7 separate regions of the Homo sapiens genome follow, and regions 1, 2, 4, 5, 6 and 7 are each linked to region 3. Evidence: promoter capture Hi-C in human tissues and cell types (Jung and others, 2019). All regions are on one chromosome and are shown on one strand. The core of a region is centred on a gene start or on the middle of the fragment in contact, and the rest is flanking DNA. Distances in the headings are between cores, read along the strand shown.

What was found. Contacts are between HindIII fragments. The study calls those that stand out against the background at their distance.
Region 1: a fragment that was not itself captured here is called in contact with the fragment with the promoter of ABCC12 in region 3 in 1 of the 25 tissues and cell types used here (bladder).
Region 2: a contact is called between a fragment that was not itself captured here and the fragment with the promoter of ABCC12 in region 3, in 2 of the 25 tissues and cell types used here (dorsolateral prefrontal cortex and lymphoblastoid cells).
Region 4: a contact is called between a fragment that was not itself captured here and the fragment with the promoter of ABCC12 in region 3, in 2 of the 25 tissues and cell types used here (IMR-90 fibroblasts and mesendoderm cells).
Region 5: a contact is called between a fragment that was not itself captured here and the fragment with the promoter of ABCC12 in region 3, in 2 of the 25 tissues and cell types used here (dorsolateral prefrontal cortex and spleen).
Region 6: a fragment that was not itself captured here is called in contact with the fragment with the promoter of ABCC12 in region 3 in 2 of the 25 tissues and cell types used here (dorsolateral prefrontal cortex and mesenchymal stem cells).
Region 7: a contact is called between a fragment that was not itself captured here and the fragment with the promoter of ABCC12 in region 3, in 7 of the 25 tissues and cell types used here (H1 embryonic stem cells, IMR-90 fibroblasts, dorsolateral prefrontal cortex and 4 more).

The regions. Positions count from the first base shown.
Region 1 is chr16:48,555,541-48,559,215 of GRCh38, reverse strand. All of the region lies in intron 2 of N4BP1 (NEDD4 binding protein 1), which reads left to right. Among named protein-coding and RNA genes, the nearest start is that of N4BP1, 53 kb to the left of the region's middle. RefSeq lists a silencer at 1,804-2,098. The HindIII fragment of the contact is 4,191 bases long and covers 248-3,675 here.
Region 2 is chr16:47,710,830-47,714,196 of GRCh38, reverse strand. No RefSeq gene overlaps it. Among named protein-coding and RNA genes, the nearest start is that of LINC02133, 150 kb to the left of the region's middle. The HindIII fragment of the contact is 3,782 bases long and covers 1-3,367 here.
Region 3 is chr16:48,153,706-48,157,454 of GRCh38, reverse strand. It overlaps ABCC12 (ATP binding cassette subfamily C member 12), which reads left to right and starts at 1,462. Exons shown (of 31, transcript NM_001393797.1): 1 at 1,462-1,614; 2 at 3,571-3,749. The HindIII fragment of the contact is 12,201 bases long and covers 1-1,833 here.
Region 4 is chr16:47,767,914-47,771,569 of GRCh38, reverse strand. No RefSeq gene overlaps it. Among named protein-coding and RNA genes, the nearest start is that of LINC02133, 89 kb to the left of the region's middle. The HindIII fragment of the contact is 3,324 bases long and covers 439-3,656 here.
Region 5 is chr16:48,535,575-48,539,262 of GRCh38, reverse strand. N4BP1 (NEDD4 binding protein 1) reads left to right here. Exons shown (of 7, transcript NM_153029.4): 7 at 1-537. Among named protein-coding and RNA genes, the nearest start is that of N4BP1, 73 kb to the left of the region's middle. RefSeq lists enhancers at 190-689, 1,629-1,698, 2,459-2,528, 2,559-2,928. The HindIII fragment of the contact is 3,094 bases long and covers 1-2,976 here.
Region 6 is chr16:47,682,839-47,686,287 of GRCh38, reverse strand. All of the region lies in intron 26 of PHKB (phosphorylase kinase regulatory subunit beta), which reads right to left. Among named protein-coding and RNA genes, the nearest start is that of LINC02133, 170 kb to the left of the region's middle. The HindIII fragment of the contact is 3,079 bases long and covers 1-2,870 here.
Region 7 is chr16:47,731,861-47,735,208 of GRCh38, reverse strand. No RefSeq gene overlaps it. Among named protein-coding and RNA genes, the nearest start is that of LINC02133, 130 kb to the left of the region's middle. RefSeq lists an enhancer at 296-1,495. The HindIII fragment of the contact is 6,735 bases long and covers 1-3,348 here.

The sequences.
Region 1 (3,675 bases), core at 1,094-3,593, 400 kb before region 3:
TTTGTTTTGTAAATTTTTTATTAGGATTTTCAAATACATAAGATAAGATAATGAATTCCCAGGGGTTCATCACCCACCTTCAACAATTACCAGCTCGTGATCAGTCTTGTTTCATCCTAGCCCTTACTTCTTCTTTCCACCCCTATTATTTTGAAGGAAATCTCAGATATATGGTCATAAATATTTTAATATGTATTTTTTAAAATATAAGGATTCTTCTGCTTTTTATTATTTGAATGAATTATCGAAGCTGTGTTTTGCTGTCAAAAAGAAAATGTCATCATTTCAGATGTTAAAGTTTGAAGACAGGCAGCAAAAATATGCAATATGCTTATCTTCATTTCCAAATAATACTGTTTATTGTCATTTCACTTTGGTTTTTTTGGCAGCCCTGTTAGGGGAAACCCAGCAAATGATCCGCAGCTGCATAGCGATATCTAAGCAAAAATGTCACTTCAGTCACCCACACCCCAAGCCCGGAACAAGTTCTTCATTGTTACGATTTCTTGAGCCAACTCGTGACACAAAATTTAGGTCACAATTGTGAGCAATTCTCATCCTCTTTCACTTTTCTATATGTGGAAGGATTTTCCAAATAAGAAATGCAAGGTTAACGTAGAATGAGCAGCGATCCTGATGCTTTTTATAAACCTTTTGGGGTAGTTAACAGGCATATTTCTCAGCAGGGTCACTGTTGGAATTTAGAGTGGTGCTGCCTATCCGTGACAGGATGTTTTGCAAATCTAGTCCCTCCCACTTTGCTTATAATATCCTTCCCCAGTCGTTGTGACACCTCAAACACACTCCTACATATTTCCTAATGCCCTGAGTACAGTATCATCTCTTTTGAAAACCACCAATTATTACACTAAGGGAAAGCTGCAAGCTTTCTTTTTTTATTTCTTCTTTTTTTTTTTTTTTTGGAAAACTGATTGTTTTGGGAGGATTTACATTTTCTTTGGATTCACAGATGTCTCTGTTTAAAGGCAATACTTTTACAAGAGAATGTGTTACTTTAAGAAGACAGACTTGTACTTAATTTGATGTAAATTGATCTGAAAATATCAGTAATTAAGATTTACCCATATTCTAGGAAGAAACTGCGTAATGGGTATAGAGTTTTATTTTGGAGTGACAAACATTTTGGAACTAGATGTAAGTGGTGGTTGCACGGCATTGCGAACGTAGTAAATGCCATTGAATTGATTATTTTAGTCGTGTGAATTTTACCTCAATTTTTTTTGGAAGTTGGAAAAAAATCAGCCCTTATTTTAAATCAGTTGCTTCAATGTTAAGTGTGAATAAACTTTGACTAGATTCCATGAAGAAACTGATTTGTGTTTCTTCTGTTCAGTGAACTACCTCTAATACCCATAGTCCCTGACACATAGTAGGAGCTCAGTAAAAACTTGTTGATGAATTAAAGGCAAATTAGAATTTTTCTTTTTTTAAGAGGTAAAGTCTCACTATTTTGCCCAGGCTGGACTCAAACTTTTGGGCTCAGGCAATCTTTCCTAGTAGCTGAGGCTATAGGCATGCCTTACCATGCCCAGTTTAGGATTTTTTTAGTGGCTTTTTACTACCTATTTGTAACTTCATGGTTACTATTCCAGTGGCCAGTTTAGATTTTTAACTGAGGCCATATATTTAATGCAACAAATATTTGAGATTTTAAAGCCGAATCACCCATTATTATGTGTCAGGCACTGTATTTTTAAAAATGCAACCTTCACACCAATTGTGAGTCAAAAGTTATAATTTATACAACATGAAGTGGCTTAAAAATGTTTTCCAGGGTTACATGGATAGAGATTTGGGCCCATAATGTCTTTCCCCAGAGCTGCTGTATACCCTCTCTCCTCCAGCAGAAGTTAAGGTTGGAATTTTCAGGCCAACGCATCATTGGATACTTAAGTCTTGGGTTGCATAGCACTGCTGACTAAAGCTCACTGATTTGACCCAAGTAGTTGGGGAAGTACTTATTTGGTCCTTAAGCAATAGGATCTGTTGGTGTGAGCCCCACCCTAAAGCAGCCTAGGCCCACCCTTCGATGTATTTTTGTAAAGCCTTTGTTCATTTGCCTATCCAGAATGAGGTCTGCAGCCCATACCACCATGAAAACCTCCACAGTACCCTGTTTAATGCTGCCAATTTTGTATACCTTGTTCTTGCCCCCTTGTCACCATGAATGAGTCAAATGATGAGTAAGTGGAAATTGTTTGTGGTGTATGGCTAGACAGCACAGTAGTGGCCAAGAAACATTTGGGCTCTGTCAGCCTGAAACTTCAGCATGAGAGCCCCTGACATATGGGGTGATAGTTTTCCATGTAGATGGGGTTTGCCCCTTCCCTTGCCAGAATTAAGTATTTTAGCCATTTTTTTTTCCATACTAGTCTTTTCCATATTAGGGTTCCATAAAAAGAAATCGCTTTTTCCTGGGTAACTCAGAAAGGACTTTCCATTGTCCCCACACTGCCCTGTCTGGTGCTATGGCTGCCATGAGTTTTTATCAGCTGTGTGTCACCCATCTCTCCTCCACTTTGGACACTTTCTTTTAGTTGCCAGCATTCTATAATATGGCAAACAACCAGATGATATAACCTTTAACCAATTATATGGAAGCAGGCATTTAAATGTCTTGAGGGCCTGGACACCTGGCCTCCCAGACTTGATAACTGTTCATTCTGCATTTGGAACTGGGAGCCCCAGAGCTTTGGCCTTCCCATAAGTAGCAAGGTGTTATTATATATATACTTTGGGTCGAAATAGACCTTTGGTCTGGGTTTACCTGTCAACATGCTACTCTGGTTTGATTGCAGAGAGGCTAGGAGACAGTGATGAGTAAGCACATGTCTGCCTGCTCAGGGTATAGGACTTGAAGTAGGAAGAAGGGTCCTTAATCGACCCTCTGTATTATTTTGAGGACAATAATTTGGCTTCACTTAATTTTTTGTCATTGTAGTTTTATTTTTTGGGTAAATTTGTATGTTCTCCACCAGAATTTTGAACCTCTATTTTAATTCCATTCCTGAGATTTTTTTAGAGTATCAAAAGTGATATGATCTTATTACTGAGAATAACACTTTGGAATTTAGTTGAGAGCTGATGTTTCTAGAACCTCCATCTGTTCCCCCTCTAGACTTGTAAGGAGTCCAGGGCAGCAGAATTCATCGGTCTGCATTTCCTTCCTTGTTACATAGTGACCCAGTGGAATTGAACTGGGTACTCCTCCTCTATCCAGTTCCTCCTCTTGCCATCACTAGAAGCTTTAAGGAAAAGAGGGAGAGTAGGTAGCACACATTTGTATCTGTCAAAGTAATCAGGGAGCCACCTTAAAAACCTTTTCAGTGCAGTTATCTCAAGGGTTATCCTTTTGAGGACTAAATATACATATTTCTTGGTTTTTCTAAGAACCAGCAGGTTGTTCTGTTGTGGATTTTCAAATTAGGGCTGTGGTTGATGTTAACTCTGGGCATGTCCCTGCTGTTAAGCAATTAGAGTGATGGATGATTTATTGTTTTTGGAAGATTAAAAGAGGCCCCCTTTAAAGAACCACCCCCAGTCTTTTTTCTAGTTAAAAATGTCACTTTGTTACCTTCTTGCCATATTTGAATGCCTTTAGATAAACAAAGCACTCCTGAATTATCAAGATTGCGTGTGTTTATTTACATATAT
Region 2 (3,367 bases), core at 364-2,863, 440 kb after region 3:
TCAATCAAAGGTGCCATGCCCATGGGAAGCAATGACCCGAGAGACGACTCCCCCAACCAAATCTCTGGAATTCTAAGGACAGCCATCCTGAACTGGGCTCAGGAGCTCCATTAAGGATGCGGAGGGAAGATGCAATGGAGCAGAGGCAGAGGCAACAGAAATAGAAGAAAGTTTCCATTCTTAGAACAGGGGGGCTGTCAGGCAGGGCACGGTGGCTCACGCCTGTAATCCCAGCACTTTGGGAGGCTGAGGTGGGCGGATCACCTGAGCTCAGGTGTTTGGGACCAGCCTGACCAACATGGTGACCCCGTCTCTACTAAAAATACAAAAATTACCCTGGCATGGTGGCGCACGCCTGTAGTCCCAGCTACTTGGGAGGCTGAGGCACGAGAATCACTTGAACCCAGGAGGCAGAGGTGGCAGTGAGCTGAGATCACACCACTGCACTCCAGCCTGGGAGACAGAGCAAGACTCTGTCTCGAAAAAAAGAAAAAAAAAAATGAAGAACGGGCAGACTGACTCTCCCTCCACTGAGGACACCACTTTAGACTTGCTTTTTCTTAGCCATTGTTGTTGTCGACTAAAGACAAAAATTAAGCTTTTAAAGAATTAAAGTTAGTTTTATTCAGAAGTCTTAATGAGGACAATAGGCTGAGACCTAGGGCCCAGAGCAGATGGGTCAGATTGCTCCAAACCAGTTTCAGCCACAGCTTATATGCAAGTGGCGGCGGTTGAGTATGTGCAAAATCACGTCAAAGTTTGGATGTGAGAGTACATCTGGTTCTAGATGACTACCCTTTCAGACGTTATCTTATGTGCAGGCAAAGGCAAAGGTTCAGGTTATTTATCTTTTCAAGGATGTAGTGACTCAGGGAGGATGTGGGTGGCCGCGGGCTCTGTCCTGCCTTGTCCTCAAGGCATTGTTCCAGAGGACTGCATTTCATCACAGTGAGGGGTTCAAGCAGAAATGAGCAAACATGGCTTTTTATGTTTGCTATCTTGTCTCACAATTGTCATTTAAAAAAAGAATACAGAAGTTAAAAAATAAACCAAAAGGAGCTGGTCTAAAAGGTAAGGCAGATTAGTGCAGGGAGTTCAGAGCCCAGATCTGGAATCCTGCAGACCTTGGCTCTAACCCCCGCCCTGCCACTGGCCTGGCACGGGCCTGTTTAACTTCTTAGCTACTCAGCTTTGTCATTTCTCAAACAGAAGCAGCAACAGTCTCTTCCTCACAGAAACGGTGTCAGGGCTAAATGAAATCAATCACAAAAAGCGTTTAGCAAAGATGGAGCCAAAACTCCTGACGGACACTGGGCCAGGTGTCCCAGGGAGTGGGTGGCCGGGCCCCGGGCAGGGTCTGACAGACACTGGGGTTAGTGTCCTGAGCAGTGGGTGGCCAGGCTCCGGGCAGGGTCTCATGTACTCTGGGGCTGGTGTCCCAGGCAGTGGGTGGCCAGGCTATGGGCAGGGTCTGACGGACACTGGGGTGGGTGTCCAGGCAGTTGGCGGCTGGGCTCAGGGCAGGGTCTGACGGACACTGGGGTGGGTGTCCCGGGCAATCGGTGGCCGAGCTCTGGGCAGGGTCCCATGGGATGCATCTGGCTCCCTGGCTTTTCAATTTCTTCCTGGGGCTGCAGCCATCCATTCCTCTGAACTGAAAGCTGAGTCCTAAACCACATTATCTCTTTGTCTCATTTGTGGGTTTCGATGACAGACAGTGAGACAGGCAAGTGAGCAGTCCCCACTCCCTGTTGGGGAACTTTCTCCTGGTTTGAGCCAGATATCAAGTGGGTGGTTACTGAGAAACGAAGCCACTGGGTCCTGGGAGTGGGAGCAGAAAGGAGATGTCAGATTCCGAAGACAGAAGACAACAATAGGACTTGGCAATTGATAAAGAAGGATATTAAGTATTAGTGCAGGTTCTGGGATAATGGGGAGGCCATAGAGAAGAGACCTTAAGTCCAGAATGGAGAATATCTGTATTGGGAGGAAATAGCAAGTTCTACAAAATTTGGATAAGGGGTTTGATGAAAGATAGTAGGACAGATAAGTGCAAGTTTCTGGTGGTTAAATAGCAATACAGGATCCATATCTATTCTTATCTATGTACATGTGTCTATACATCAAGATGTGTGTGTGTAGGAGTTAGCATAGAAGTGAAATTTAAGACAAGGGAATGAGAAGCTCTTCGAAAGACAGACACAAGGGAGTGAAACACTTAAAGGAAAGGGGATGCAGTTACAGAAATGGAAGATGAACTGATAAAAAGGTAGAGGTGGAGGGGAGCATTGCAAAAATCCAGCCCAATTCACTCACTTAAAGGATAAGGAGACTGCGGTTCAAAGAGCATCAGTGATTTGCCGAACAGTCGACCATGTCCAGAAAAAGGGAGATATGGGGCCTGAACCCATATTCTCAGACTCTCAGAGAATTCTCAGACTCTGTCCTTTCCCACTGGAGACCTGGACATGGCTACTTGCAAGTGAAAGTTAATTAATGTTGATCACCAGGATGAAATTGGTGATCATGAAGGTCTAAATTGGCATAAAATAAACTTATGGGTCAAGAAATTGTGAATAGTAAAAATGTGAATACACCTTTTCCTTTCACATAGGTCAATAAACAAACACACACACATAAAAGCAACACAAGAAAGAATTTTTTTTTTTTTTTAGACTCGGTCTGTCGCCCAGGCTGGAGTTCAGTGGCGCAATCTCGGCTCACTGCAAGCTCCGCCTCCCAGGTTCATGCCATTCTCCTGCCTCAGCCTCCCGAGTAGCTGGGACTACAGGCGCCCACCACCATGCCTGTCTAATTTTTGTATTTTTAGTAGAGACGGGGTTTCACCATGTTAGCCAGGATGGTCTCAATCTCCTGACCTCGTGATCCACCAGCCTTGGCCTCCCAAAGTGCTGGGATTACAGGCGTGAGCCACGGCGCCCGGCCAGAAATCTTAAAACTAAACAGAATCTTGTTAATTGAGGGCAGATTAATGATTTCAATGGCTGGAGAATCATTCCGCTATTTTTATTTATTTATTTATTTATTTATTTATTTTGGAAAAGGAAGTTGCAGGAAAAAATCAGATTCAAAGCATCTCCTTTCTGCCTGGATTCATCCTGCTGTTTTCAACCCAGAGTCTTGTAGGAAGTTGTCCAGAAGGGAAACGATCGTGCTGCAAAACTTCTAGGTCATGAGCTGTGCTTTCATAATTTGCAATGTCTCTATCAAAAAACAATTGAATCTGAAGAACCAGAAACACATGTTGCATGAAAGGTTCCAGATTACAGCTCCCACTTTCAGCCTCAGAAAACAAACACTTCTCTAAATGATCCCAACCCTTCTGAACCCATCATCTTTACTGGTG
Region 3 (3,749 bases), core at 213-2,712:
CTGTTTCCGGCTAGGCCCACCAATCTTCTTGCGTAGCGCCCAATACTGTTTGTCTGGGTGGAAATCCATCTCCGCCCAGCCTTTCATGGAGATAGAGGAAAACTGATCGGCATTCTTCCTCCATAAACTTGACAGCACTTGACTCCGTTTGGAAGATTGTGGAAGCGAGTCTTTGCTGTGTTTATGAGACCCCCGGGGTTGTTGCGAAGATCAAGTGATAAAGAGGATGAAGAATTTTGCGATACACAAAGGGCTCCAGAAATGTCGAGTGATATTATTAGCAGTGATTTGCATTCATGAAGGGAAGAATGGACGGAAATTAAATGGAACACTTTGGACACGTGTAAGGAAACTGCTGTCGGTCTAGCTCACTCCCCAGGCCGGGGAGCCTTCCTGGGAGGACCCATTTTCCTACACAGCTGCCCACAGCCCCTCTCCATTTCCACCTCCCTCTAGGTAGGAAGGGAACTCAGGTTGGGCAAAGGCGGTGAATTCGCATCTCCAGGAAGCGGCGGGGCCGGAAGGCAGCCAGCAGGGGGCGGCATTGCGCAGGACAGGAGAAGGTAGCGGCCAAGTTCCTCATGAAATCCACGTGCGTGAGGCTGGGAAGGTCCTCTAAGATGTTTAAATAACCCTTAAAGCGGAATCAAGATTTGTTTTTTTCTGCAGTTAGAGAGTTTGCTCCCTCCCAGCCGGCTCGCTGAGCGCTGTGGAACCCTTCGGCTGGGCTCCCCTGAAATCGGGCGCTTGTTCTGGGACAGGCGCAGAAGGGACCCCGGGAATCACGCTTGCGCTCGGGATGTGCAGGGTTCCAAGGGTGACACAGGGGAACTTTTCTATGCAAGGGCTAGCTGCTAGTGCAGGTCTCAGACTTACCTTCCGTTCATTTCAAGACAAATTGAGCTCAAATTACCCTTTTCTTTTTCGTTAAATGAATGGGGAATGAATGAATGAGATTTTCTGTTTTGAAGATGAGGCTCATCTCCCCTCCCCTCGCCTCCCCTGCCCTCCCCTACCCCTGCCCTCCCCTACCCCTGCCCTCCCCTCCCCTCCCTTCCCTTCCCCTGATCCCAAAGTTGATTCCCGGTTGCAGGAACACAGCGTAGAAAATTCGATGCATTCTCTCAGGAAGGAGCCTGGAGTGGGACTCAGGGGACCTGGGTGCTGGTCTCAGCCCCACGCCAGTCGTGGACAGGCTTCTGTTCCTTGGGCTTCTCGTCTGTAGAATGACGGTTGGAGAGAGGATTTTTCTCCTTCTCTTCTACAAGGATGTGCTGTGACAGCCAGGGAAGGGCTGGCCATGCACAGTGCTTTCATGCATGGGCTCTGACTGTCACCAAAGAGCCAGACCCGGCCACAGGCCATCCTGGAAGAGGGGAGAGCCCTTTAATGTGGGCAGAGGGAATGTTGGCCCGCCAGAGTTCCCTCTCAGGTGTGGTGGGAGTGGCAGTTGAATGGGGCAGTTGGAGAGGAGGACTTCAGGCGGGTGGGACAAGAGAAACTGAATCTGAGGTCCTTGGGGAGAAGCAGGCCCTGGAGTCCTGGGCAGCAGATGCCAGGCTCTGAGCCCCATGACTGCTGACCCTCCTCCCCTCCCTCTCATCCTCAGCCCAGGTAAAGCTTCATTTCCAGCCCAGGTAAAGCTTCTCCCTGTAACAATTAGTGGCCACCATTTAGTCCCAAGGGCCTTTGTTTCTCATCCTCAGGACAGGCTGTGTGTGTGTGTGGTGGGGGGTTTGGGGGAGGTGACACCACTGAATGGGGCTGCCCAAGTGGGAGGCAGCAGGGACGAGGCTCCCAGAAGAAAGGCAGCCCCTCTTCCACTTTTGGAGCCCCCGCTATCATAAAAGAAAAGGCAGAAATGCCAAGACGCGATTTCAAAATCTCTGAAATACAAAAGCCTACATTGAATATTTTAAGTCTTTTCCCACACATGCACAAACACAAACACATATACAGGGTAGTGTTCACAATTTAATTATGGGATTTATACCTCCCCCCCAAAAAAAAAGACCTGGAAAGCTTTACTGCAGTTCTCATATGAGGTTTTCATCTTTCTTTCTTTTTTTTTTTTTTTTAACTTTTAAATATATTATTTTCCTGGGAGGGTAGATTTGAATTGCTCTGAATCCAGGCTCTGCATCCTTCTTTGATCGTGTCGGAATGTGTCTGTAACTGGATGGATGACCTCTTTTGGAGATGCCATCACTGGCCACTGTTTTAGGCCTTCTGGGAGATGAGGGTACTTGAGCAAAAGCACCCCCACTTCCCTTCCCACACCCCCAGCTTGGTGCTGTCCCCTGCATGCACTTCCCTCTGCCACCTCTCTGCCTCTCCCTGCCTCCCAACCCCAGTCCCTCATCACTCACAGGGCTTTCTGATCTGGCTGCCACAGGTGCCTGGGACCTGGGGACAGACAGGAGAGGTGCGGTGCAGGCAGGGCCTGGGAGAGCTCCCCAGTGTCTCCTCTGTGCTGGAGGCCAGTCAGGCCCTGGAGGAAGGGGCTGTGGGAGTTGGGGGAGACCATCAGATATTGATAACTTTGGTGGCTTTAAATTAACAATGGATTTATTAAGAAAGAAGTAGGGCTGTAGTCTCATACCTGGGAAAAATTTTATGACTAAAGGTGTGCCTGCTTTTGGTTGATGGAGGAACTCCCATCATGAGCACCAAGGAAGACCCAGAGTCCAGTTCTCAAACATAAAGTTGTTAATTTTCTGGGCTAGACAGGGGCAGAAATGAAATATAACAGAGCAAAGTGGGCAGGTGTGGAAAATGGTTCTTCTTGAGATGACTTCTAGACATCTTTTGTTCTCTCTTGGGGCAGAGACAAGGATAGAGAAAAAGGCCTCAGGAAACACTATAAGGAAGACAGCAGTGCCAATGCAATAATAAATGTTACATGACCCCAAATCTCAGAGTCACAGAGACAGTAAGGAGTGGTGGGGATTGTGGCAAACTAAAGCATGTATACCCTGCCCAGGAGGGGCTGCCGTGCTCAACGTAAGTGGATTGTCACCACATGAACATACAGAGCTCTTGATATTTGACGAAAGCCAGAAGCCAGTCTTATTTTTTTTTTAATGTGGTATCTCCTCATTTTTAAATGTTTTCCACAAATTGGAAAAAAATGTTTAAACTATGCAGGCCATATAAAATGGAACTGCAAGTTGTACATGGTCTTTGTGTCCTGTGCTCTAAACAGAGGCCTTCCTGCTTCTGCCTGTCCAGTCTGTTGAGGTTAGGTTAGGAACCCCCTGCCTGCTAGCAGAGGGGTGCACCAGTGACTTTTTGGCATCTCCTGCCAACCCTCAGATGCTCTGCATGGAAAACACAATGCCAAGAACAGAGCCATGATGGCTGCAGGGACCCTGGCCCGGTTGGCACTGCCTCCTCCCAGCTCTCATCAGCTGTGTACCCCTCAGACCCCATCCTGTGATTGCCAGCAAACAGATTTCTCACCCCAGGCAGCTCCTCACTCCTGGCAGAGGATGGCGTGACAGACGGGGATAGAGACGTTAGCCAAAGCAGGCTTCCTGATTTTAAAAAAAGTCTCATTTTTCCCCCCAGGGCTGCCAAATTTAGCAAAGTGCCATTCCAGCTGCAATGCTTCCAAGCCGCCTCAGATCATCAAAACTTCACATGCCCTGGGGAGCACTCAAGGAAATTACCTTCTAGCACCAATTTCCTATGCGCGCTGATTACTCAAACCTGGCCAGGGAGGCCTGGCCTCCAGTGTTTGGCATCTG
Region 4 (3,656 bases), core at 851-3,350, 390 kb after region 3:
CAAACTGAATCCAGCAGCACATCAAAAACCTTATCCACCACGATCAAGTCACTTTCATCCTTGGGATGCAAGACTGGTTCAATATATGCAAATCAATAAAAGTAATCCATCACATAAACAGAACCAATGAAAAAAAACACATGATTATCTCAATAGACGCAGAAAAGGCCTTTGACAAAATTCAACAGCTCTTCATGCTAAAAACTCTCAATAAACTAGGTATTGATGGAACGTATCCCAAAATAATAAGAGCTATTTATGACAAACCCACAGCCAATATCATAATGAATGGACAAAAACTGGAAGCATTCCCTTTGAAAACCAGCACAAGACAAGGATGCCCTCTGTCACCACTCCTATTCAACATAGTGTTGCAAGTTCTGGCCAGGGCAATCAGGCAAGAGAAAGAAATAAAGCATATTCAATTAGGGAAAGAGGAAGTCAAATTGTCCCTGTTTGCAGATGACATGATTGTATATTTAGAAAACCCCATCGTCTCAGCCCAAAATCTCCTTAAGCGGATAAGCAATTCAAGCAAAGTCTCAGGATACAAAATCAATATGCAAAAATCACAAGCATTCCTATACACCAATAATAGACACACAGAGAGCCAAATCATGAGTGGACAAAACTGACAAAAACAAGAAATGGGGAAAGTATTCCCTATTTAATAAATGGTGCTGGGAAAACTGGCTAGCCATATGTAGAAAGCTGAAACTGGATCGCTTCCTTACACCGTATACAAAAATTAACTCAAGATGGATTAAAGACTTAAAAGTAAGTCCTAACACCATAAAAACCCTAGAAAAAAACCTAGGCAATACCATTCATGACATAGGCATGGGCAAAGACTTCATGACTAAAACATCAAAAGCAATGGCAGCAAAAACCAAAATAGACAAATGGAATCTAATTAAACTAAAGAGCTTCTCCACAGCAAATAAACTGTCGTCCAAGTGAACAGGCAACTTACAGAATGGGAGAAAATTTTTGCAATCTACCCATCTGACAGAGGGCTAATATCCAGAATCTACAAATAACTTAAACAAATTTACAATTTAAAAAAACCATCAAAAAGTGGGCAAAGGGTATGAATAGACACTTCTCAAAAGAAGACATTTATGCAGCCAACAGAAATGTGAAAAAATTCTCATAATCACTGGTCATCAGAGAAATGCAAATCGAAACCACAATGAGATACCATCCCACGCCAGTGAGAATGGCGATCATTAAAAAGTCAGGAAACAACAGATGTTGGAGAGGATGTGGAGAAATAGGAACACTTTTACACTGTTGGTGGGAGAGTAAACTAGTTCAACCATTGTGGAAGACAGTGTGGTGATTCCTCAAGGATCTAGAACTAGAAATACCATTTGACCCAGCGATTCCATTACTGGGTGTATACCCAAAGGATTATGTTGATCATTTCAAAAAACCAGCCTCCTGGATTCTTTGATTTTTTTGAAGGGTTTTTTGTGTCTCTATCTCCTTCAGTTCTGCTCTGATCTTAGTTATTTCTTCCCTTCTGCTAGCTTTTGAATGTGTTTGCTCTTGCTTCTCTAGTTCTTTTAATTGTGATGTTAGGGTGTCAATTTTAGATCTTTCCCACTTTTTCTTGTGGGCATTTAGTGCTATAAATTTTCCTCTACACACTGCTTTAAATGTGTCCCAGAGATTCTTGTACATGTGTCTTTGTTCTCATTGGTTTCAAAGAACATCTTTATTTCTGCCTTCATTTCGTTATGCACCCAGTAGTCATTCAGGAGCAGGTTCTTCAGTTTCCATGTTGTTGTGCGGTTTCTATTGAGTTTCTTAATCCTGAGTTCTAATTTGATTGTGCTGTGGTCTGAGAGACAGTTTGTTGTGACTTCTGTTCTTTTACATTTGCTGAGGAGTGCTTTACTTTCAACTATGTGGTCAATTTTGGAATAAGTGTGATGTGGTGCTGAGAAGAATATATATTCTGTTGATTTGGGGTGGAGAGTTCTGTAGATGTCTATTAGGCCTGCTTGGTGCAGAGCTGAGTTCAAGTCCTGGAAATCCTTGTTAACTTTCTGTCTCATTGATCTGTCTAATATTGACAGTGGGTTGTTAAAATCTCCCATGATTATTGTGTGGGAGTCTAAGTCTCTTTTTAGGTCTCTAAGGACTTGCTTTATGAATCTGGGTCCTCCTGTATTGGGTGTATACATATTTAGTATAGTTAGCTCTTCTTGTTGAACTGATCCCTTTACCATTATGTAATGGCTTTCTTTGTCTCTTTTGATCTTTGTTGGTTTGAAGTCTGTTTTTTTGGAGACTAGGATTGCAACCCCTGCTTTTTTTTTTTTTTCTCTCCATTTGCTTGGTAAATCTTCCTCCATCCCTTTATTTTGAGCCTATGTGTGTCTCTGTACATGAGATGGTTCTCCTGAATATAGCACACTGATGGGTCTTGACTCTTTATCCAATTTGCCAGTCTGTGTCTTTTAATTGGGGCATTTAGCCCATTTACATTTAAGGTTAATATTATTATGTGTGAATTTGATCTCATCATTATGATGTTAGCTGGTTATTTTGCCCATTAGTTGATGCAGTTTCTTCATAGCATCGATGTTCTTTACCATTTGGCATGTTTTTGCAGTGGCTGGTACCAGTTGTTCCTTTCCATGTTTAGTGCTTACTTCAGGAGCTCTTGTAAGGCTGGTCTGGTAGTGACAAAATCTCTCAGCATTTGCTTGTCTGTAAAGGATTTTATTCCTCCTTCACTCATGAAGCTTAGTTTAGCTGGATATGAAATTCTGAGTTGCAAATTCTTTTCTTTAAGAATGTTGAATATTAGCCCCCGCTCTCTTCTGGCTTGTATGGTTTCTGCCAAGAGATCTGCTGTTAGTCTGATGGGCTTCCCTTTGTGGGTAACTCAACCTTTCTCTCTGGCTGCCCTTAACATTTTTTCCTTCATTTCAGCCTTGGTGAATCTGACAATTATGTGTCTTGGGGTTGCTCTACTTGAGGAGTATCTTTGTGGTGTTCTCTGTATTTCATGACTTTGAATGTTGGCCTGCCTTTGTAGGTTGGGGAAGTTCTCCTGGATAATATCCTGAAGAGTGTTTTCCAACTTGGTTCCATTCTCCCAGTCACTTTCAGGCACACCAATCATACGTAGATTTGGTCTTTTCACATAGTCCCATATTTCTTGGAGGCTTTGTTGGTTTCTTTTTATTCTTTTATCTCTAACCTAGTCTTCTCCCTTTATTTCATAATTTGATCTTCAATTACTGATACCCTTTGTTCCACTTGATCGAATCAGCTATTGAAGGTTGTGCATGCGTCACGAAGTTCTCATGCCATGGTTTTCAGCTCCATGATGTCATTTAAGGTCTTCTCTACACTGTTTATTCTAGTTAGCCATTCGTCTAACCTTATTTCAAGGTTTTTAGCTTCATTGCGATGGGTTCAGATATCCTCCTTTAACTCGGAGAAGTTTGTTATTACCGACCTTCTGAAGCCTACTTCTGTCAACTCATGAAAATCATTCTCCGTCAAGCTTTGTTCCATTGCTGATGAAGAGCTCTGATCCTTTGGAGGAGAAGAGGCACTCTGGTTTTCAGAATTTTCAGCTTTTCTGCTCTGGTTTCTCCTTATCTTTGTGGTTTTATCCACCTTTGCTCTTTGGT
Region 5 (3,688 bases), core at 180-2,679, 380 kb before region 3:
CCGTCCAGATGCTGCAGTGTGGCCAGATTTACCTTCCAGTAACATACTTCTAGTCACCCCTCCTCCTGCGAAGTGATCTGCAGTGGCTGTTTGACCAGACCACAAAGTTCACATCTCCTGAGCTTAGTGTCCGTGGCTGTCCACCTCCCAGCCATACTTGACTGTCCCCAAACTCTCCCTGCAGCCACATGTTTCCCATGACCTGTGGGCTCTGCAGATGGACCTCTCTCCGCTAGAGATGCCCTTCTCCCAAATGGCTTCCCTCCTGGAAGGCCCAGCCTGAGTCCTCGTCTCCTTTCCAGTGCTTCTGCCAGAAGCATCCCCATGATGTTGTGACCGCACAGCACTTTGTGTCTCGCTTTGAGCACTTGCCACTCTGGCTGGTGCTGCTGCCACTGATTGTGTACTGTCTTGCTGCCCTTTCTAGACTGTGAGCTCCTCGTGGGCAGGGACCGCCTGTGTTCTCTGTATTTCCCACGGCGCCTAGCACAGTGCCTTGCACTTGATAGGTGCTTAATAAATGTCTGCTCAACTGAACTGGAGGACAGTGCCTTCTTGACTGCGGCATCTGGCAGCAGGACCAGTAAGAGGCCGGGAATCCACTGCCCTGCAGTGGGACAGTGGGGTGGGGCTGGGGTCACTCCACTCCCTTCTCCCTCCCCTGCCAGGCTCCAGCACATGGCATCCTGGGCACACAGGTCCGGGGAGGGGTACCTGGCGCAGGCTGCATACTAGATGCACTCAGGCTTCCTGGCCAGGGCCGACAGCCGGCCCAACCTATGCCAGTCCAAGTCACTCCTGGGGAGTTCCTCTGTGGTGGTGGGAATCGTGGGATGCCAGGCCCAGGTCTGTCAGAAGCCATTTTCCACCCTGGGGGAAGTCGACCTGTGGCAGGAAAGAAGCGGCGACGTGAGAGAGGTTCCTGGCAGCATGAGCCTTGGGTTCCTGTTGTCAGGAAAGCCCTTCCTCGGACGTCACCACACCCCAGTATTCTAACACACTTTTTGCTTAAGCTGGTCATTCCAGTTGGATTTACGTCCTTTGAAATCGAGTCTTGAGTAACACGTGTTACTGTCTTTAGCAAGGATTTGCAGATTGTTTAGAAAGGTCCAAAGACCTGCACAAACAGGGCTTCAGGAGTATCCACCCCAGTCAGAAAATGCTGGAAGGGGCCAACTATTTCGGAGTTGAGTAACTTGAAACTCAGGCCTGGTGCCCCTCAGCAGAGAACTCGGCCTGGCTCTCGAGCTGTTCCCTGCTGCCGTGGCTCTGTGCCCATCCCACTGCCTCTTCAGTCCCCTGACGGCAGTTCTTTTCCCCAGTTCCCTAGTTGGGCAAATGCCAGCACTGTTCATTTGGAGTTTGACTTTCTGTATACTTCAGAACTGTAACTAAGCATTATTTTATTATGCCTATTTTACAGATGAGGATTTCCTCACCTGTAAAATAGGCATAATAATGCTTTCTACTTCAAGGGTGACATGAGGAATAAACGTGGTGCTTAGAACTGTGCCCAACCCAGAGCCCCGCTCAGTGACTGCTACTGGGGCTCTGATCAGCAGCCCTGCGGACACCTACCTAACTATTCGCCACCCTTCCAGGTCATCCCACACCCCCACCAGCCAGGTCTTATCTCCAAGTGCTAAGCCGTCATCCTCCAGGTTCTGAACGCACTCCTTTATCCCTGTGGTCCAATGATGAGGGTGCTTAGGTTAGGGCCTACATTTCTTTCAGTGCCTCAGCAGGGCCATGGGAAGTCCAGCTGTTCTAGAGAGGGCATTGTTCCTTGAACAAGGCAGGCACTTGGGAGAGTCCCTCGGGTGCCGTCACCAGAGAGAGCACCCGGAGGAAGTGAGCACAGCCACTGCCTGCCTGCAGGGTGCTGAGAAAGCTGAGGCCGGCAACCAGTGTCGTGCCCTCACCACCCATGTGCCCGGCAAGCTTCTGTCTCCTTTAATCCTCACCTCACTCCTAAAGTGCTGCTGTTATTATCTCCATTTTGCAGAGGAGGAAACTGAGGTACAGAGATGCTCAGGAACTTCCATTTCTTCAAGCTAAGATGTCCAGGATTTAGGATTTGAATTCCAATGGGCCATCCCACCTCCCTGAAAGGCAAAGCTGCACCAGAGGTGACTCAGCAGCTGGTATGGCACCTAAGATACCTCCACCCTTCAAGGAAAAGAATTGAGGGCCCATGACAGACCTGGGTCAAGGCTGTCAGTCTTCAGGGCACAGGGAGGCTGCGGAAGGAAGCTGCCTCCCCACTTCCTGCTTGGTGGGCCCGTATCCAGCCCTGTTCCTGCGAGAGGATGCCAAGAGCATATTTTTTTAAAGAAGTTGACCAGTTCTGCAGAAGCTGTGTCAGGAGTGAGCCCATGTATGCATCAGAGCCACCTTGCACTTCATTTCGGGAAACACAGATGAGTTGATGTTGATTGGAAACTGTACGTGGCCTTTTTCCCGGCTCAGGTTCCAATCCCCTACACACCGAGGATGCCAGGGCTGGGGGCATTCACTGGGGAAATGGACTGGGCAGGCAGGGATTTGCCCAGAAACAGAGCAGAAGTACCCACAGCCAGTGCTGGAGCCAAAAGCCCAGAGGCTTAGGGCTTCTTAAACCAGCCCCCTTTCACCCCCTCCTGCCTGGTGGCTTCAGCTCCCAGAGTCACAGGACTCCAAACCGCAGACTCCAGCCTTTGGGGCTTTCCTTCCCCAGCCCCGAGTCCCCAGGGAGCCCTGCTTGGCCCCACAGCCTGAAACCCAGTCTGGGGTCAGGCCTGGGCAGGCCCTGTCCTCCCCTCCTCCCTGCTTCTAGCGAGAAGAGGAGGCGGCGGCCTCCCCCAAAAAGAATGCGCTTGTCTGCCCGCCTGTCTGGCTCCTGGATCAGTCTAAAGTTTCAGCCACCAAAACAGGCAGCAGGAAGAAGAGGGCCTCCCGCAGCCTGCCCCTAGCAGCTGCGCACGTGGGCTTGCTCAGGGGACTTCCCCCAAACCAGGGTGTCTCTCAATGCCAGCAGGACCCTCTCCCCTTGCCAGCCCCTCAGGATCCCTGGCATGTCACACCTCCACTCTGAGAAGGGCTGGGAACCCTTACTTCTTCCCACTGTGTGGCTAAGGGACATGAGGCCCAGCCGGTGAGGGGTGGGGCCCAAACCCCTCATCCCCTCCGGATGCTGCACCTTCCCAGCCCCTCCAGGGTTCCTCCATCCCTGGTCTTGAGCAGCCACTTCATGCAGGGGACAGTGCCAGGGAAGGGAGAGAACAACCAGAATGGCCCTTCTTCTGAAGGCCTCATGCCCAGCCAGCCCGTGGAGTGAGGGCATCACCTGCTCCTGCACTTATTCTCCGTGACCTTGAGAAAGTTACGCAGCCTCTCAAGGCCTCGGGCCCTCATCTGTCAAGGGCTAGTGCTGCTGCCCTCAGAGCTGGTGGTCTGTGACCCTGGCTGTGCACTGGGATCCCCAGGGGCAGCGCTGCCCAGGCCACACCCCAGACCCTAGAGATCAGAATCTGACATCCACGTTTTCTGGTAATCCCAAGTGACCCGGCGTGCCCTCATGGTTGAGAAACACCTCCCTACTAAAGAGTAGTTGCAATGGTTGCAACCAGGACTGAATCCTAAGAAACGGGCCTGGCTCCTGGGAGAGTCCTTCCCATCCTGAGTCCCACGGTGAGGAAGGCACCTTTGC
Region 6 (3,449 bases), core at 82-2,581, 470 kb after region 3:
TGCCACTAACTTGAGTTATTAAAACTAAACATAGTTTATCACATTTATCTTTTAAAATCCCTAGTATCACGCACAAAGATAGCTGGAGACCTTAATGTTTTCCCTTAGACTTCCATTTACAAAATCTCAGCAGTTTTGTGGGCAAATTATTGACAACACTGTTCTCAAAAATCATGAAAGGAAGCAGGTTTTTCACTCATTCAAGCACAAATAAATACAATCTGTCATATTATTAAAATACATTTATTGGCTGGGTACGGTGGCTCATGCCGGTAATCCCAGCACTGTGGGAGGCTGAGGCAGCGGATCATGAGGTCAGGAGATTGAGACCATCCTGGCTAACACGGTGAAACCCTGTCTCCACTAAAAATACAAAAAATCAGCCAGGTGTGGTGGCAGGCGCCTGTAGTCCCAGCTACTCAGGAGGCTGAGGCAGGAGAATGGTGTGAACCCAGGAGGCGGAGCTTGCAGTGAGCCGAGATCACACCACTGCACTCCAGCCTGGGCAACAGAGTGAGACTCTGTCTCAAAAAAAAAAAAAAGAAAAAGAAAAAAAACCACATTTATTCATTAAAATTGTTGGTCAAACTAATCTTTTTATACCTTGGAATTCTTCAAATAAAAACAGCAAAACAGCCTTAGACATAAACTATAAAACTATTAATAGCAGTCAGAAATCTACAGAAAGTAAATTACCAAGGAGTAACACAGTTAAGAATATCAAAGACATTTTATCCATTTGTAGGACTACTAATAAAGAAGGACATAGGAAAATCAGGCTAATTATCCCTCATTCCCAATGACAAGGCCATAAAATCTGATTTGATAATTTTAGCACAAAAGCTTTCTTTTTTTTTCTTTTTGAGGAGGAGTCTCGCCCTGTCACCCAGGCTGGAGTGCAATGGCGTGATCTTGGCTCACCGCAACCTCCGGCTCCCAGGTTAAAGTGATTCTCCTGCCTAAGTCTCCTGAGTAGCTGGGATTACAGGCGTGCGCCACCACACCCAGCTAATTTTTGTATTTTTAGTACAGATGAAGTTTCGCCATGTTGGACAGGCTGGTCTTGAACTCCTAACCTCGTGATCCGCCCACCTCGGCCTCCCAAAGTGCTGGGATTACAGGCGTAAGCCACTGTGCCTGGCCAGTACAAAAGCATTTAAATACAAAATAGGGAAAGGAAAAGATGGATGGATGGATGGAAGGAAGGAAGGAAGGAAGGAACAAAGGGCAGAAGAAAGAAAATGTGGAAGGTCAAAATAATGAAGGTTATGGATGGCCCAGAGTCTTATACATTCAGTCTGTGTAAGAGCCAGAGATGCTCTACTCGCCAACAAGCAAATGAGAAGGTAGATACACACGACTGACCAAATCAACCTTCATATATATCCAGGTTTGACTTAAGGACAATGAATTCTTTGGGACTGCTGGAAAAGCACAAAAGGGAATGTTAGTATTCTTCAGACAGTTCTGGGAATAAGCTTATCCTTTTAAAAACACTCTTTTTTTTTTTTTTGAGACGGAGTCTTGCTCAGTCGCCCAGGCTGGAGCGCTGGAGTGTAGTGGCATGATCTCGGCTCACTGCAAGCTCTGCCTCCCGGGCTCACGCCATTCTCCTGCCTCAGCTTCCCGAGTAGCTGGGACTACAGGCGCCCGCTACTACGCCCAGCTAATTTTTTGTATTTTTTAGTAGAGACGGGGTTTCACTGTGTTAGCCAGGATGGGCTTGATTTCCTGACCTCGTGATCCGCCTACCTTGGCCTCCCAGAGTGCTGGGATTACAGGGGTGAGCCACCGCGCCCGGCTTAAAAACACTCTTGTTTGGAGGCTAGTAAGGATACAGTGTGTGTATTGGCATGTTTCTTTCCGATATACCCCAATTAAGGAGTACAATATGAAATAAAGTACATGGAAATCTGACAGCAGTGGTAAACCAGAACACCTGAAATTTTATTTTATTTTTTTTGAGACACGGTCTTACTTGTCACCCAGGGTGGAGTGCAGCTGTTGTGATCTTGGCTTACTGCAATGTCCACCTCAAGCAATCCTCCCACCTCAGCCTCCCGAGTAACTGGGACTACAGGCAGGCACCGCTACACCCAGCTAATTTTTAATTTTTTTGTAGAGAAGGGGTTTTGCCATGTTGCCCAACTGGTCTCAAACTCCTGGGCTCAAGTGATTCATCCACCTTGGCCCCTCAAAGTGCTGGGATTACAAGTATAAGCCACTGCACCTGACCAGCTGAAATTTTCTGGAAAAAAAAAAAAAGCCATACAGAATAGAACTGATCCTTGGAAAAAATAATTTTTTTTAAATAATCATTTTAAGATTTCAAGATAAGACAAGGATCTGCTAAGTTTGCTGTTAAACAAATGATTGGAGGTGGAGCCAAGATGGCCGAATAGGAACAGCTCCGGTCTACAGTTCCCAGCGTGAGCGATGCAGAAGATGGGTGATTTCTGCATTTCCATCTGAGGTACTGGGTTCATCTCCCTAGGGAGTGCCAAACAGTGGGTGCAGGACAGTGGGTGAAGTGCACCGTGCACGAGCCGAAGCAGGGCGAGGCATTGCCTCACTTGAGAAGCACAAGGGGTCAGGGAGTTCCCTTTCCTAGTCAAAGAAAGGGGTGACAGACAGCACCTGGAAAATCGGGTCACTCCCACCCTAATACTGCGCTTTTCCAATGGGCTTAAAAAACGGCACACCAGGAGATTATATCCCACACCTGGCTCGGAGGGTCCTATGGCCACGGAGTCTCGCTGATTGCTAGCACAGCAGTCTGAGATCAAACTGCAAGGCGGCAGCGAGGGTGGGAGAGGGGTGCCTGCCATTGCCAAGGCTTGATTAGGTAAACAAAGCAGCCAGGAAGCTCCAAATGGGTGGAGCCCACCACAGCTCAAGGAGGCCTGCCTGCCTCTGTAGGCTCCACCTCTGGGGGCAAGGCACAGACAAACAAAAAGACGGCAGTAACCTCTGCAGACTTAAATGTCCCGTCTGACAGCTTTGAAGAGAGTAGTGGTTCTCCCAGCACACAGCTGGAGATGTGAGAACAGGCAGACTGCCTCCTCAAGTAGGTCCTTGACCCCCGAGCAGCCTAACTGGGAGGCACCCCCCAGTAGGGGCAGACTGACACCTTACATGGCCGGGTACTCCTCTGAGACAAAACTTCCAGAGGAACGATCAGGCAGCAGCATTTGCGGTTCACCAAGATCCGCTGTTCTACAGCCACTGCTGCTGATACCCAGGCAAAGAGGGTCTGGAGTGGACCTCTAGCAAACTCCAACAGACCTGCAGCTGAGGGTCCTGTCTGTTAGAAGGAAAACTAACAAACAGAAAGGACATCCACACCAAAAACCCTTCTGTACATCACCATCATCAAAGACCAAAAGTAGATAAAACCACAAAGATGGGGAAAAAAATGGAGCAGAAAAACTGGAAACTCTAAAAAGCAG
Region 7 (3,348 bases), core at 374-2,873, 420 kb after region 3:
TGTTCCAACAGACTGATTCCACAGTAAAAGAGAGGAAGGGCGGGGTGAGAGAAAGGAGCCCAGAAGTTTCCTTGTCTGTCTCTATGTGAATCCGCCAGGCCTTTGTAACAATCACACTTAACTTGAGAGTATCTGGAAGAATGGGCCATTTTTCATTTTCCAGAGAGAATGGCCAGCACCTATAGCTTTAATAGATCCAGAGAAAGAGTAAACATAACATTTAGGATCTCTGACAAGGTTAACTGAAGATTCCACCCCAGGACAAGTGGGGTGAGTTACTTTGCTATTTCCTCCCATATGTGATATAATTTTTAGTATAATCACATTTTCTCAGACCTCAAGGAAGAGCCCTAGGGGATATTTTTAATTATAAGGTAGACTTAGCATTTGGCCCTATGTATTATGAAACATCTTTGCCAATGTCAGATAGTTGAGTCCTAGGACCAGATGGGAGCATTCATACAGGCTTATACGAGGCACTTCAGTTCCTCTTATCCTCAAATCTGCTCTCACCTCATTGTCTGAATGTACAACATCTGAGGCTTTGTTCTCCCTCGCACTCTCTGATGGGAAGCTGTATAATTCGATCCATTGTACATTAAAGGTGTTTCGTTAGGATGATCATTTAAAATACACACACACAAAGGCACACTCCAGGGTGCCACATATTAAGCATTTTATCTTTTCTTTTAAAACAATCAGAGCTAAATGTTTTTACAGATAATCCCAGACCTCATTATAGGGGAGTAAGTGCACACTCTTATAAACCATTCTTTCTCAATAACCTGGCTTATGAATATCTTCCTCTGCTCTCTTCCCATTTTCACATTTAACCCAGTTTCCTACCTTTTGAAATTCAGCAGAATCTTCTCTGTCTTGTGTAGCCTTGGCTGTGTTCTCCTGACCTCAGATCCAGAGACGATTCCTGTGGGTTATCTACCTAATGCCACCCACAACATGAAAGCCAGCCTGTAGCCGGCTGTCAGGAGCTGCTGCCTTCAGGTGATTATCATGCTCTGCATGCCTTTTGGAAAGGAAAAAAAATCAGTGAAGCACTGCTGGTCTTGCTGCATCTTCAGGATTATTATTATTATTATCATTATTGAGAAATAGTTGACTCTGCAACTGGACAGATTCTCCTTCAAAAGGCAAAGATGCCATAGGAGCAAAGGAGTCGAGACACCTCGTTGTCTATCCCCTGCCTCTGGGATGGGCTGGGGCCATTCTAGAATTTCAGCGCATTCATTCTCTCCACATAGGATGGCTCAATGTTTATGCTTAATTGCAATAAGTTTCCTTAGCATAACAGAAGCTTCGCTGGACATCCTCCAGTTCTCCCAGTTAACAGCGATGTCCCTCCTCCTCTACCAGGCTGAGCCATTATAATTTCTTCCTCAGGAATATGGATTGGGAATGTATAGCAAGGCCCCTGGTATGTAAACGCAGGTACTGCTGGTGGCTGTGTTTTCTACTGTGTGGACTGGAGAACGAGAAAGCAAAGACACAGGAGGAGGAGAATGTCCAGAGAGGAGTGAGATGAAAGCAAGGAAAGGGTCCCCCTTGCTGACAGCCAGGCCCCTCCCTGGTTCTATTCTTCCCTGAAAGCCTTGCTGCATCACGGGTCCATGAGCACCGTTCTATGCTTACAATTCTCCCTCACTTATTTTGTTTTTGTTTTTTGAGGCAGGGTCTCACTCTGTCATCCAGGCTGGAGTGCAATGGTGCGATCTCAGCTCACGGCAATCTCCACCTGCCAGATTCAAGCGATTCTCCTGCCTCAGCATCCAGAGTAGCTGGGACTACAGGCGTGCGCCACCACACCCAGCTAATTTTTTGTAGTTTTAGTAGAGACAGGGCTTCACCCTGTTGGTCAGGCTGGTCTCAAACTCCTGACCTCAAGTGATCTGCCTGCCTTGGCCTCCCAAAGTGCTGGGATTAAGGTGTGAGCCACTGCACCCAGCCTCTCCCTCATTTATTTTTTCCCTTAAAACAGCTCAAGTAAGTTTCTGATATAACCAAAACCTTCCTTACTGATAAACACATGTAACTTTTAAAGAATTGTTATTCTTTCCCTTTTCCTTTTGCCTTTTCCACTTTATCATCTGGTGTTTTGACTTCGTGGTTTTGCTGTGGACGCACATGTACGCTTGTGCGTTCTAAGACGACTTGCCAGTCTATATGGAAAAAATGAAAGACAGATTCATCCTATTCATAAACAAATGCAGGGAAAGGCATTTCAGAGCCTGCCCTGGTGAGTCACCTGCACCCCCTCCTGTGGGGCAGTCACTCTTTAGCACAAGTCTGTGTGGAAAGGCAGAGCTGGGGATTGTAGGCACTTTCATTTTTTTTTTTTAAGAGAAACCAGAAATAACCATTTTTATGAGAAATCTCTTAATTTTGAATTGTCGGCACAAATTATGTTCATACAGGAGACCAGTCCCCTGCCCCCTGCAAAAAAAGTTTTCAGGCTGCTTGAGCTCTCTACTTTACATCCTGTTAGTCATACTGTGGTCTGAGGACCCACAGCATCAGCAGCACTCAGGAACTTACCAAAAATGCAGAATCTCAGGCCTACCCCAGACAGGATGAGTCAGAATCTGTATTTTAACAAGGTCCCCAGGTCATTTGTCTGCACATTAAAGATTGAGAAATCCTGGCTTAGTTCACTAGTTCCTAAATTTGGCTGCATATTAAAACTGCCCAAGGAACTTAAAAAAAAATAGTAATACCTGAATTCCACTCCCAAGGATTTTGTTTTAATTAGTCTGGAATGCAGCTTGGGCATAAAAAAATAAAAAAATAAAAAACTCCCTGGGTGATGTTAACAGGTAGCAAATGTAAATGTAAAGAACTGCTGGTCTACCACAGGACCCAACACCACTTCCTACGGCCTCCTAGGTACTGTCCAACAGCTCACTCAGACCTCATCCGCCTTGGCTCCTGAATTGGCAGCTCCAGGTCTGGAGTCTCAAGACTTTCACAGGAGGTGCAAATTGTAGCTCCACAAATATTGCCAGAAGATAATTTTGGGAGAGGAGTGGGGAAGAGCGTTTCAATTTTTTTTAATTTGATGATCCTAAATTAGAAGACAGGACTTTCTCAAATGCCACAAAGAAATAGTGAGTATGAACATCTTAGAAAAATAACTATTATAGTCAAAAGTACTCAACTGCACAGTACAAAGACTCCAAACACACAGGATTTAAACCTGTATCTTAAATGATCTTAGGCTTCTGAAAATCCCAGTTCTTTGAAAATGTGGCCAAATAAGAAGGGAGAGAATAACAACAGCAAAATAACCAAGGTTGAACCCTGGGAGAAAGGATGCTTAAAATTAGAGTGCAGGAA